3 separate regions of the Homo sapiens genome follow, and all the other regions are linked to region 1. Evidence: promoter capture Hi-C in 16 types of primary human blood cells and fetal thymus (Javierre and others, 2016). All regions are on one chromosome and are shown on one strand. Each heading gives the region's core, a stretch centred on a gene start or on the middle of the fragment in contact. The rest is flanking DNA. Distances are from core to core; before and after follow the strand shown.

The links. The method cuts DNA at HindIII sites, captures the fragments that hold promoters and counts their contacts. A CHiCAGO score of 5 or more calls a contact.
Region 2: a contact is called between a fragment that was not itself captured here and the fragment with the promoter of IGSF21 in region 1, in 4 of 17 cell types (endothelial precursors, naive CD4 T cells, naive CD8 T cells and 1 more). The highest score is 8.8, in endothelial precursors.
Region 3: a contact is called between a fragment that was not itself captured here and the fragment with the promoter of IGSF21 in region 1, in 3 of 17 cell types (naive CD8 T cells, naive CD4 T cells and non-activated CD4 T cells). The highest score is 6.6, in naive CD8 T cells.

What each region holds. Positions count from the first base shown.
Region 1 is chr1:18,105,439-18,110,034 of GRCh38, forward strand. IGSF21 (immunoglobin superfamily member 21) reads left to right here and starts at 2,360. Exons shown (of 10, transcript NM_032880.5): 1 at 2,360-2,760. The coding sequence starts at 2,691. The HindIII fragment of the contact is 15,130 bases long and covers 1-4,596 here.
Region 2 is chr1:17,681,888-17,686,278 of GRCh38, forward strand. All of the region lies in intron 26 of ARHGEF10L (Rho guanine nucleotide exchange factor 10 like), which reads left to right. Among named protein-coding and RNA genes, the nearest start is that of LINC02810, 33 kb to the right of the region's middle. RefSeq lists enhancers at 792-1,352, 2,139-2,740, 4,224-4,391. The HindIII fragment of the contact is 2,483 bases long and covers 669-3,151 here.
Region 3 is chr1:17,634,911-17,639,477 of GRCh38, forward strand. ARHGEF10L (Rho guanine nucleotide exchange factor 10 like) reads left to right here. Exons shown (of 29, transcript NM_018125.4): 18 at 1-106; 19 at 2,978-3,093; 20 at 3,652-3,779. Among named protein-coding and RNA genes, the nearest start is that of LINC02810, 80 kb to the right of the region's middle. The HindIII fragment of the contact is 6,979 bases long and covers 1-4,567 here.

The DNA of each region.
Region 1 (4,596 bases), core at 1,110-3,609:
TTCATCCAACTGGTATTTATTGAGGATCCACTATGTGTCAGGCACTGGCTAGGCATAATAATAATTATAATACAGGGTGATGTTAAAGAGAATTGAGGTGATTCAGAAGTCTTGGGGCTGAAGGAGATCTCCAACACACCAGCCCCAATCCTTGGTCCTAGGAAGCAACCCTCCCTTGGCTGTTAGGCCTGCTTTCCTCCTCACTAGCATATCCTCAGATGCCATTCTCTAGCTCCTTCTGCTGGCTCTCTTTTCTAGCTGGTGTGAACCATGGCTGGGAAGAAACATCACTAAGGGGCCCTGGAATCCCACCTGCTCCCTGGCCCTCATCTCCAAGGGCTGGGCTGCAGGGAGCGCAGCCAGGAAGCCCCACCAATTCAGGGTTCACCTGAGGAACTGATGCTGTCCACCTGCCTAGCTGCACGCCGATTTGCAGCTGGGGCCAGAGAGTAGGAATGCCCACACAGCGATGCTTGGCATTTCCCTGCACAACTCAGACCAGCACAAGGAACCGCATGAACCTGATGCTGTTCCCCAGCCAGGGAGCCCCTTCCACAGAGGATTTAGAACCTGGGATGGACTTTTGGGTTTGTTGACTTTTTCTTGGGTCAGAGTGGGGAGGGAGGGCCAGGGAGGAGGCAGTAAGGGACTGTGCCCTGCAGCCTGAGAAGAAGGTGAGGGGGAGAGGTGACCTCAAGCTGACCCTCAGCAGCCTGGAGAAGGGGAGACCTGGGTGGATGCGAGTGAGAGGGAGCAAAGAACAGCAGCCAAAGGGAGAAGAAAGGACCTAAGACTCCAGTGTTCATCAAGTGTTCAAGCCATATGCAGTCCAATCAACCTGGAACCAATTAGTCTGATTCACAAAAAAAAAAAAAAAAAAAAAAAAAAAAAATCCCACTTAGGGACAAACTGTAATCAAACACCTATTTATAAGGGTTTATTATGATCATTATTATTATTTTACTGAGAGGATCATTCTAAAGCCTGTCAGGTGAACGTATGCTTTCAGATCTTCATAAATGCAAATCGCTCCTTCTGGGGTGGGTGAGCAAGCTGAGCCGCAGAGCTGCCTTGGGAGGCGATGGGGTGAGGTTCCAGAGGGCAGGAGGAGGGAGCAGTTCACTTTCATGGACATCTCTGCACAAAGCTCACCCAGAGGCAGCCCAGCAACCACCCATTGCCCACCCCACTCCCTACACTCCTCTCAGAGGGCTGCTGGAGATGGAACTGGCTATAGACCCATTGCCCATGTAGGTAAACGATGCAACAGCCTGACTCAGCAACCTGCCAGAGCTAGGGAAGCTGGAGATTCTCCATAGAAGGCCTGGGTAAAGGGACCCACCTGAGTTCTGAGCAGGTTTTGCCCCTGGTCGTGCTGGTTTTTCTGGGCTTTGCCAATCTTCTGGGTCCCTACCAATGGTGAAATTCTATCTCCTGAACTTCCTCATCTAACCACATCCCCAGTCCACTCCAAGGGCTAGAGTACCCCTCCCCTTCATCCTCGCAGGAGGCCTCAAAGTCCACCGCCAGGGCTGAGGCTCAATGGTGTGTGTGTGTGTGTGTGTGTGTGTGTGTGTGTGCTCGCGTGTGTGTTGGTGGGAGAGTAATGGTAACATACAAGTCCCAAACCTGTTCTTCTCGGACCTGGGAAGAAAAGCTGTCAGGTCTGGCAAAAAGGTGGAAACTTGGTCTCTGCCAGGAGGAAACAATCAGTTCCTCACCCTTCCTGGCTGGATCCTAGCACATGGGAAAAAGACAGAACACACCCCATTTCCGTGGGTCCCTGGGGGAAGGAGCAGCCGTAATTGGGGAAGTTTCAGAACATGGAAACCCCTTAATCTTGCCCAATGAGGGCATTCATCGTTGGCAAGGTCAGAACTCCAGAGCCACACCCTGCCTGCCCTGCTCCCAGGATGGCATCTTTCCCTCTCGGGAGGGAGGCTGCCTCCTTTCATCAGGCTGAGTAGCGGGGAGGGCGATGGTAATCCCGGGGATAGGAGGGGCTAGGTAAAGGCGGATCCGATGGAGCATAGCTTCCAGGGCGGGGTGTTGGGTCACCTGGGTAAGGGTTAAGAAGCTGGAGGCAGCAAGCCAGTTTTGAGTGAGGGGGGACCTGAGTGAGGGGAGAGGGGAGGTTAGGAGGGGGTGAGCTCTCCTTCTCCCTGCAATAAATCGGCTTAGCGGACGAGAGCCGAACAGCCCAGAAAGGATTAAAGAAAAGTCTGTATAATACGCGGAGAGCGCGGCGAGGGGAGGGCAAGGAGGGCGGGGGGGCGGGGAGAGGGGGAGGGACGGAGGGAGGGCGAGAGGAGGGGGGTGCTCGCGCCGCCGGGAGAGGCGAGCGCGAGGCAGAGAGCGCGATTCGGCTCCAAACTCCGGCGCTGCAGCCGATCGGACTCTGGGCCGCGGTGGGCACCGCGCGCAGCTAGGGAGCCGAGAACCGCGGCGAGCCCCGAGGACGCCCAGAGCGCGAGGGTCGCTGCGCCTCGCAGAGCCGGAGCCGAGTCGAGCCGGGCGCCCGGGCTGCCTGGCCGCGGCGGCATGGGGGCGCCCCCGCGGCTCTCCGCGCTGCCCGCCACCGCCTCGGCCAGTGGCCGGAGGCAGGAGCGCGTCTGAGCCCATGGCGAGGGGACCCGCCGCCACCGCCTCCACCCCCGCCGCCCCGCCACCGCCGCCAGCTCCCGGGCACCATGCGAACCGCCCCGAGCCTCCGCCGCTGCGTCTGCCTGCTGCTCGCCGCGATCCTGGACCTGGCGCGCGGTGAGTGCGCGGGCGCCTGGCGGGAGCCGAGCGGTGAACGTGCGCGGGGACGGGGTGCCGGGGGAGGGCGCTGGCCGGGGTCGCTCCGAGAGGCTCGGGCTACGAGCACCGGTCCTGCCCGGGGTCTGTGGAGCTGGTTGGCTCGATGAGGGAGGGAGGACGCCTCTTGGAGAGCGCTCATGGATTTGTGCCAGGGTGTGTGTGTGTGTGTAAATTGTGTGTCTTTGTTGTGTGTCTGGGTGAGGGTGTCCGGGAAGGAGCTGTGTGGGCAGAAGGTGCGGGAGTGTATTTAGAGATGCAAGTGTGTGTGTGCGTGTGTGTGTGATGGTGTGGGGTCTGCGTGTGAGTGAGCGAGGGTCTGGATGGGTGTTAGAGTGTCTGTGTCAGTTACATGGAGAAGGTGTGTGTGTGAGAGTGTGAGCGAATGTTGGGGGGAGGGTGTGAACATGTGCCACCTTCCCTGTGAGGGTGTGAAGTGTGTGAGCTTGTGTCACTGTGGGTGTGAGGTGTTAGGGGGTGGGTATGTGAGGTTTGGCGTTTCACGTGTGTCCCGAGTGTGCAGGTCTCTAGGGGTGTACGACAGCGGATTACTATTTCTGTGTGCACAGGAGATGGGACTGTGACACTGGACAAGAGTCTGCTTATGTGGGATGGGTGGGGGTGCAGGTGCCTGGGAGTCGTGGGCTTCATGGGGCTGGGAGTGTGTGTATGCGTGCCATGGAGCGTGTGGTTATCGTGTGCAGGGAGGTATGGACGCTTCCGGGGCTGGGGAGTTGTGAGCAGCTCAGTGTGTGTGTGTGTGTGTGTGTGTGTGTGTCCCGCCGTGTGGACTTGCTCCCGGGTTAGGCTAAGACAGCTAGAAGGAGGTTGAAGCCGAGCGGGTTCTCCGGAGCCAGTGAGAGGTGGCTCCGCAGCCCCAGGGTCCGCGGCCGGCCTCCCACCCAGTGCCGCCGCGTAGTGGGTCTTAAATGGAGCTGAACCCTTTCGCGCAGTGAGCAGAGAGCCAACGTGAGGCTAAAAGCCAGGAGGGAGGGAGGCGGGACCAGCGAAGAGCCGCAGGCACCGAGACTACAGGCTCCGCGTCCGGGATCCTCCTCGGAGCCTGGTGCCAACCTCAGCCTGGCTGGAGTCAGAGCCTGGCTCCGCCTCGGAGGGGAGCGGGACGCGAGGTGCCAAAAAGTCGTCTTTATGATCAATAAGGTCTCGACCCCGAGCCCCACTGGATGATAGAGGTGGGCATCACCTCTGTCCTATGCCATAGCCTTGTCCCAGCAGGAGGTGCCTACCTAGGCTCTGAGAGTGCCTGCCAGGAAGGGGTGCCCCCTTAAAAATAACCCCAACTCCTTCTACCCCGAAGTCCTTGGGGAGTGCTGGGTCTGCTGATGGGAGAAGCTGCAGAATTTGAGCCCGGAAGGTGGTCCTGACAGCGAGGGGGGAGGGGTTGGTGTAACCCAGAAGGAATGCAAACCCTGTACTTTGTTCCCCTACCCTTGGAACAAGAGACTTTCCTAAGTGGATCAAAATGTCCCCCCTCAACTTTGGGAGGAGGGCTCTAGAGGGAAAGGTTACATGGGGGAGGTCCTCGTTCCAGCGCCGCCGAGAGGGCACTGGGGTTTGTTGAAAGGCACTGGAGCCCTCACCTGGACATTGCAGGGGGCGGGGGTTGGAGGCTGGGGACCTAAGGTAAGCACCCCTTTCCCTGGGAATGCGCAGAACAGAGAGACGCGGCAGGGTGAAGGAGAGGACTGATGAGAAGGGCTTGTTGGGAAACCCTGGCTCCGTCAGGACCCCACCCTGCGAGCTCTCCCTGGAACCCGGGAGCAGGGTTCTTCTGGC
Region 2 (4,391 bases), core at 660-3,159, 420 kb before region 1:
TTCTGCCTTGCCTTCTGCATTGACTAGTTGTCACTAGTTACAGAGATTCACCTGACCCCACTCCACACCCTGCCCTTACTATCACTACAAATTCCTAGATTTAAAAAAAAAAAATCCAGCGTGCTCTAATCAGGACCATCATTATTATTTTTGATGTTCACATTGTCTTGAATTTGGCCAGCGGGGACCCCTTCGTGTTGGCTCCTGGGTCCTTTGGACACATCCCCATTGTTCTTTGAGCCCTTCCTTGCTTTTCATCTGTGAGAAGTTCTAGGCATTTCTCCAGGGCACCCTGGCTAGAGTCACTGCCTTCAGGCTCTTTCAGTGGACAGGGCCAGGGAAGAACTCTCGAGTTGGGGTTCGTTTTGATACCTCTGATTTAGATTTGAGATCCTGGAGTCTACCCTCGTCTCTCCCATTCCACACCGGACTCTCTTCTCTCTGTGCAAACCCTGGTTCCCAATAACATCAGTGTATCTCAGTCCCACCACATAGGTTCAGAATCACTGTGCCTGCCCCACCACCTCCAAGCCTGCCAAGGAAGTTGAGGTTTCCCTTGCAGATCATTTTGTCCTTCAGCAGGGACCAGGGGTGTACAGTTGGAATGCCATGATCCTGAGCTACTTGAATGGGTTCTTTTCTATGCGGATGTGACTGTGTTCCAATAAAGCTTCATTTACCAAAACTGGTGCAGGCTGGTTGTAGCCTGAGGGGCATTGTTTGCAGACGGCTGCTCTAGTGTATAAACCTAACAGCACGGTTTCTGGTGCAGGGTGAGCGCTCACCCAGTAAATAGCTGTGTCTGGATAATGGAGGCTGAGGGGGCAGGAAGCACTGGGCATTCCTGGTGGTGGGTGGGCAGGTGGCCTTTTTCAGGGATAAGGGGGCTAGAGGCCTCTTAGAGAGTAGGACAGCCCCTGACCCCACCAACCCCACACTTCTGGGCCTCCCAGACCAGCCAAGGATGAGGGCACAGGTCTGGAGGTGCTTGGCCTGGGATTGGGGTGCTGGGTGAGCAGGGTTTCACCCTTTTCTGGTTGGGAGGAGAGCAGAGTTTGATGAGCTGACAGCCTCCCCTGGCAATGAATTCTGAGCTCTCTCAGGGTACGTGGATACCTTGTGTTTGGAAAATGAAATGAGCTGCATGGCCTGGCAGCAGCAAGACCAGTGAGCAGTGAGGGCTTCCCCCCTGCTCTCACCAGGGTGCTCACTGCCCCCTGCTCTCACCGGGGTGCTCACTGCCCCCTGCTCTCACCGCGGTGCTCACTGCCCCCTGCTCTCACCGTGGTGCTCACTGCCCCCTGCTCTCACCGGGGTGCTCACTGCCCCCTGCTCTCACCCGGGTGCTCACTGCCCCCTGCTCTCACCCGGGTGCTCACTGCCCCCTGCTCTCACCGGGGTGCTCACTGCCCCCTGCTCTCACCCGGGTGCTCACTGCCCCCTGCTCTCACCGGGGTGCTCACTGCCCCCTGCTCTCACCGGGGTGCTCACTGCCCCCTGCTCTCACCGGGGTGCTCACTGCCTCCTGCTCTCACCCGGGTGCTCACTGCCCCCTGCTCTCACTTGGGTGCCAGGCTCAGTCCCTCAGCCCCCTCTGGGACCCGTGATCCTGGCATGTCTCTCTGGCTCCACCTACTCCCTGCCCTGTGGGCCCAGGAGGCTCAGGCAGGACTCCAGGCTCGTGGTGTGAGAAGGGGACCCAGGAGCCCAGAGGTAGCTGAGACATGCCAGGCTGGGGCTGGGGCTAGGGCTGGGGCTGGAGGTGCTGTGCTGTTCTCCCTATTCATTCCTGCCCTTTCCCCCGCCGGCCTCCCCGCTTTGGGCTCAGCAGGTTTGCACAAGCCTTCTGCTAAGCCCTCTGGGCCTGGAGACAGACTTGTTATGCCACTGGAGAAATGAGCCTGGATTTCCACCACCGACTTCTCTTTTAATTAGATTCTGACAGCAGCACACAGGGTTGGCTGGCTGCAGATTCAGGTGCAGCTTTCCTTGGTCCCAGGCCTCTGGGTTTCAGTGCGCTTGGCTTTTTCGGAGGCTGAAAATACTTCTGACCTTTCTTCGGGAGTCGAGCGGCAGGCTGGCTGCACGCGTGTGAGCATGCAGATACCTCTCTCAGTGTGTGCATGTTTGTGCATCCGTGAGCAAGGAGCTGCGTGCTGTGTTTTGGAAAAGCCTGCAGACAAAGCATGTTGGGTCTCACTGACTGTCCTGCTACCCCATCCATTCGCCCCACTGCTCGCCGACAGCAGGTGCTGAAGGGGTCCCCTTGGCCTCACTGTCCTCATCTGTGATTTGGGCTGATGCTGCCTCAGCTGGCTTTTCCCAGCAAGGCCTCATGGGAGGTTTCCTTCCTCCTGGATTCCTCCTACAGGCTGGTTTGGCAAAACAAAATCATTCTGCATGTTTCCTTGAAGGAACATACATCGCAGGAAGAGAGAACTGAAAGCCAGGACGGCCCGGGCTGTGGGCAGCAGATATGGGCGGAGGGCTAGAGAGATGGGGGCATGGTCTCTCCCCTACACAGCATGGACTACTAAACCTGACTTTGCACAGGCTGTGAGGAGGCGTGGCCTCCTCCCAAAAATCAGAGGCTCTGAGCCTCTTGCACCTGGGCCTTCTCTGAGGGCCGGGAGTGGGTGGCTAAGAAAAGAGGAAGAGACCCCCGATACCTCTGGAGCCCTTAGCCTGAGCCCCCAATCTGAGACAGGAGACAGTTCGCTTCCTCTGAGCATGCCCAGCTTGATACAAGATTCTGTCCTTGCTCTTGGGGGGCCCCCACCCAATGGAGACACCGCACCCCTGCCTTTGGTGAACTTTCGGTCTGAGGAAACTACAGCTTCTGCTCTGGGGGCATCCCCCTGGTCAGGGGTGGGCTGTGCAGTAGAACCCCTGTTCCAAGAGCAGCCTGACCCTGGGGAGAGGAACCACACTGCTGTCTCTTCTCCCCTCCCCTCCCCTCCTCTGGGGAGCCTGGCCTTTCCTGCTACCCCTGCCTCCCTTGCTACTCGCAGCTCAGCCATCAGGGACTGGCTCAGAAAAAGCAATTTCCTTGGACAGCTCACAGTCTTGCCCTCCTGGTCCCCACACTCTGATCAGGAATGAGCCCGGAGCTCACTGGCTTAGCTCCGCATGGAGACCCCCGCCCCTCACAAGCTTCCTTAACTCAGTGGGAAACCGCTTAGTGATTTGAGCTGGGAAGGAGCTGGGGCCATCCTCCAGGGCAAAAGAAGCTGAGTCCTGTTCCTCCCTCTCCACTTGCTAAGCCCACGCGAGGTCTTCGGGGGCTGGACAAAGAAGCCAGCCTTCCCCACACTGTTGTCAGACTGAGCTTCTTTAAAAGTAAAACTGACTCTGTCACTTACCAGCTCAACCCCCTCCAGTGGGCAAATAAAATCTAAACTGTTCCCCATGGATTCCAAGGTGGCCTGGTGCAATCTGGCCCTACCTGCTCTGGCCTGTCCCATTGCTGTGCCCCCCACCACGGGTCCCTCTGCTTCTCATTCCTGCCTCCGGGCCTTTGCACTGCTGTGCCCTTTGCCTAGAATGCTCTTCCCCCTCCTCCCAATCATTGAGGGGCTGTTTCCTCCCCATTATTCAGGTCTCTCACTAAATGTCACCTCCTAGAGACACCTTCCCTGACCCCAGTCTTAATGGCTTTCAGTATTTTTTCTGTGCAGTGCTTCTCACTATCTGATGTAATCTTTCTTTGTTTTAATTGCCTCCTGTCCTGAGAACGTTTGCCCCACAAGAGTGGGTCTTGCAGTCATCACGACATTTCCAGCACTTACACCCACACCAGACACATAGTAGGGACTCAAGAACATCTGCTGAATAAATGAGACCCTACTAGGCACTGGGCCTGTGCCAAGCTCTCCTCACCCAGGTACCTGTAATCCTCATAGCAGCGTGTACTTACAATTGAGGAAACTGAGGCCTGGGCCTGTGAAGCTGCCAAGGAAGTCAGATTTAATAGCAGGTTGGATCTCAAATAAATGCCCCGTCCAGGATCCTCCTGCAGTCTTGGGCTTCCTCCCAGGACAAATTCTTTATGGAAAAAGGAGAAAAGCCAGAAAACTGGAAAAGAGGAAAATCATCCCGTCCTGCTCCTGGAGTAAGCCTCAGGGTGCAGCTCTTCCTCCCCTGTCCCGCTTCTTCCCCCAGCTTTTGGTGTGTTTGTTTTGTTTTGTTTTTTTTCTTTCTTTCTTTCTTTCTTTCTTTCTTTTTTTTTTGCATTTTCTGTAGCATTCACATTTTTCTGTGTCTGTCATGCAGTGTCTGTAAGTGTGAGTTTAAATGCAGGGAGGACAGTACAGAGCTGGATACACAGAGTTACCTGACTGTCCCCATGGCTTGGGGATTTGGGTTGTTTCTAGTCTGCTGTGCCTGAGTTA
Region 3 (4,567 bases), core at 1,662-4,161, 470 kb before region 1:
GTGCAGGTGGTGGAGGTGGGCCAGGACGGTGGCACCTATGACAAGGACAATGTGCTCATCCAGCACTCAGGCGCCAAGAAGGCCTCTGCCTCAGGGCAGGCTCAGAGTGAGTACCCCCTCTCTGTGCCCTGCGTTCGTCACCCTCGCCCTCACCAGCCACAGCCTGGGCTGCTCCTACCCAGGCTTGGCCCTGTCTTGGGGACCCCTACATAGGCTGATGGGTGGCTTGGCCAGGAAGCTCTTGCTGGTTTTGCAGCCCCACCCTGGACCTTAATGCAGAGCCATGGCCTCACCTGGGTGTGCGCAGGTGCATCTCCCAATCCACACACTTTGCTCCACCTTCACATTGGCTGCCACACACTCTGTCCTGCTGTGCCAGCTACCTGGCTGCTCTTCCTCCCTCCTCCTACCTGGGCCCCCTCCCTGTCCATCCTCTGCCCATCCCCAGGGCTGATTCTTCCAAATGCAGGTCAGATCAGTGCACGTCATCCCGCCCCAGTGGCTTCCCATTGCCGGTCCTGAGGGTGTACCACCTGCCTCACTCACCTCCCTCTGCCCCTTCTCTCTGCTGCAGCCATGCCAGCCCCTCTGGGCTCCTGGATGGGCCATGCTCCCTCCCACCACGCCCTCTCCAGCCTGTGCCTTTTGCCAAGTACTCTCCTGCCATCCTGTTTTTGTCTCATCTGCTCTTGGCTCAAATGGCACTTCCTCAGAGAAGCCTTTTCTTATGCCCTCATGCTGGGCCAGGTCGCCCCTCCTGTGCTCTCGAGACCTCTGGTACATTTTCCCCTTTATGGGTGATTGATCGGTTGATGTCTCTCCTCTCAGCCTGGCTGCAGCTCTGTCCAGGAGCCTAGGGTACGGTGGGCATTAATAAGTGTTCCTTGAATGCATGCAGGATGCTAAATTGCAGCAGAAAGGAACCCTGGTGCCCGAGGCATCTTCTGTGGGTGAGAAAGGCACTGGGGTTTCACTTCCCCCTCTGTCTGCTGTCTGACCCAGGAGGCTGCCTCATGGGCCACCCACAATTCTGGAAATTCTGAGGGAGTGATTGCACCACCTACTCTTGCCGTCTGGGTGCTGGTCCGTGACAGCTGTGCCCACTTCCAGATGCTGTCTCTTTCCTCAGCTCTGCTGGGTAGGAAGAGTCCTCTGCCCCACGTGCCTTCCTCGGAGGCACCTTCTGCCCTGGCTCAACTGCACTCCCTCCCCGCCGCTTGGGGCACAGGGTTCCTTTCTGCTGGTCATGCGGTCTAGCATCCTTCATGCACTCCAGGGACGCTTAGGGGATCCCTCCTTCGGTGACAATGATGTGTCTGTGGCCGCATTCCTCAAACCAGAGTCACGTACTGCCAGACCCCTTCGAAAGGGGAAAGAAGTTCTTGTGGAACCCTTCATTATATTGTTATTCAAATATATACAAACGCAAAACTCCCTGTAATCAACTCCTTCTGCTTATAGCCCTTGAAGAACCATAAAACCAACACCAAATCACAAATTGAATAAAAATAAAGCTACAAAACCATAACATTCAAATTAACAGCATTAATGTAATGTGATGGATGATGTTGTTTTGCTGAAACCAATTTGTTCACAGTGTGGATGTGGCTCAGGCCCTGGTAGAGCAGGTTCCTCTGCGCTTTCGTGCCTGTGCCACAGGGTGCCCTGTGGGGATCTGCATTTCCCATGAGCTCCCCAGTTTGGGTCACTGCAGAGCCCCTCTGATGTGAGCACATTGTCCACATCCCAAGCTCGCCATGCTCTTTGCTTGTTACCAGGTGACCATTCAGGTGCCATAGTCCATGGAAGCCTTGATATCAGGCAGCAGAGTGTGGCTTTAAACTCATTCCACACAGGTGACTCAGATAATTATCTAAATGAAAACCCCAAATAAGGCTTCCCCTCCACTCCCCTGGGGCTTCATAAGACCTCAGTGTGCAAAACCACGGCCTAGAGAATACAGTCCAAATTCCTAGCCCAGGGGCCTAGCGTTCAAGGCCTTCCCCATCTGGTCCTCCTGGACCCTCCTGCTCTATCTCTACCTGCCACCCCCTACCCCCATCTCACCCTTACTCCATCTGTATCATCACTGGTGATCTGGGCCCCCTCACCCCATCACTGTCCCACCACACTGATATCTTTCTCCCCACCACCTCCTACCACCCACCATTGTTAACTGACTGCTTCCTCCGCCACTTGTCCTGCCAAGGTCATAAGCTCCGGAAGAATGAGGACCCTGTCTGTCTTGTGTACTGCTGTCTCCAGTCTCTAGCATGGAGTCTGGCACACGATAGGTCCTCAGGATGTCTTTGAACAACTTGCTGTTCATGGGCTGCCTCAAGCCACAGTGCCTTTGCACACGCTCTTGTCTTTCTCTCCTGGCAGTGCCCACCACACTTCCAGCCCTATGCAGGCCCCTCCTCTCTCCCAGGCACAGCTTGCTCTTGGTCTTGTGGTCTCATACAGCCCTTTGTACAGACTGACTATGGCCTGGATCTCAGGTGTTAGACTTTACTCTTGAAAGGATCTGGCTTCCCAGCTAGTCTGGGCGCTCTGGTCAGGGTAGGAACTGGATGTTACTTTCTGGAACTCTTTCTTTTTTTTTTGGGTTGGAGTCTTGCTCTGTCACCCAGGCTGGAGTGCAGTGGCGTGATCTCGGCTCACTGCAAGCTCCGCCTCCCAGGTTCACGTCATTCTCCTGCCTCAGCCTCCTGAGTAGCTGGTACTACAGGTGCCCGCCACCATGCCCGGCTAATTTTTTTCTTTGTATTTTTTAGTACAGACGGGGTTTCACCGTATTAGCCAGGATGGTCTCGATCTCCTGACCTCGTGATCTGCCTGCCTCGGCCTCCCAAAGTGCTGGGATTACAGGCGTGAGCCACCGCGCCCAGCCTCTGGATCTTTTTTGTTGTGAGCAGATGCTTGGCTTCTTGTTAGCGCCTTCACCTGTGCCTGAGTTGGTCTCTTCTCTGCCCAGATAAGGTGTACCTCGGCCCCCCACGCCTCTTCCAGGAGCTGCAGGACCTGCAGAAGGACCTGGCCGTGGTGGAGCAGATCACGCTTCTCATCAGCACGCTGCACGGCACCTACCAGGTACGTGGCCTGGCCTGACCTTTTTGGCCTGAGCTCCCCAGTGTGGGCAGTGCCTGGATTCAGAAAGCTGAGTAGGGAGGGGCTCCTCTCCTGGCCCATGTCCCCGATGTGCTCCTAGCTTCTGAGCTCCTGTTGGCAACTGTCGCTGCTGAAGCTCCATGTCCCTGCCTGGAAGTCTCTTTTGCGGCCGCTGGTTCGGGCGCATCCTCTGGTTTGGGTTGAGTGGAGCCTGGCTGTGGGGCCTTTGTTTGTTCTCTGCACAGTGGCCATTCCGTTATGTGGCCCCTCCTGGGCCTCTACCCAGTGTGGAGGGGAAGCTGGCTGCGACGGCATGTCCCTCTCAGAGGAGGGCTCCAGGTGGGATCTGAGCCCAGGGCTGGGAAGCCTGGGGCATGGCGAGTTGGCCTCCTGCGTGGGGCTAAATGTGCAGCCTCAGTGAGGCTCCAGGACTTCTTCAGTTTCTCTTCCTCTGGGGTGCTGTGATTCCTATAGGATCTGGTGTGGCTTTTGGGGAGCCAGTGTGCTGTGTGGTGACCTCATTGGCCTCCTGAACCCTAGAACCTGAACATGACTGTGGCTCAAGACTGGTGCCTGGCCCTGCAGAGGCTGATGCGGGTGAAGGAGGAAGAGATCCACTCGGCCAACAAGTGCCGTCTCAGGCTCCTGCTTCCTGGGAAACCCGACAAGTGAGAGGAGGGGGTCTTGGAGGGAGGGCTGCTGCCTCTGCTGGGCTTCCAGTGGAGCAGGGGATCCGGAGAGGGTACCTGGAGCCCTCTTATTTGTCGAGATGCCATGGTGGGAGTGGATATGTAGGCATCGTGGGCCATGTCTGGGATAGCATCTGGCACGCAGTAGGTGCTCATGAAAAGACTGTGGAATGAATGAATGAATTAATGAACAGCCTGGTCATGTCCTGGATAAGCCTGGCCCACTGTTAGGATACTCAGACACTCTGCCATTGGTCAGTTCCATTTGCGCTGTGTCCTTTTCAGTCACTTCAGCCTATCTAGGCCCCCAGGCCAGGCCCTGGGTTTCCTCTCTCTGGACCCAGCCTCCCCCCAGCACCACCTTAGCCCCAGAATGCCCACCACAGGAGCTGTGCACAGTAGACCCCAACTGAGGTTTGTGGAACTGATGACAGCCATAGCTGCTCGGCCTGGCAGAGACAGGGAACGGGATCTTTCTGGTCCTCCTGAGGCTTTGTAAGTTGGGTCTTTTTATTTCCATTTTACAGATGAGGAAGGTGAGGCTCAGAGTTTCAGGAGAGGCTGAAGGCCACATCGTGAGAGACAGAGCTGGGTCCTGATGAGGTCTGACTCTGAAGCCCAGGCCAGTGCAATGAGGGGGCTCAATGCCCAGGTTTTGGCCTCCAGGGTGGGGTGAAGGTGGGGATAGAGTGTCACAAGCACAGTGGCTGCAAGGAAGAGAAGGTTGGAGCACTATCATTTGAGGTAGGACCATGGGCTCAGTCCCC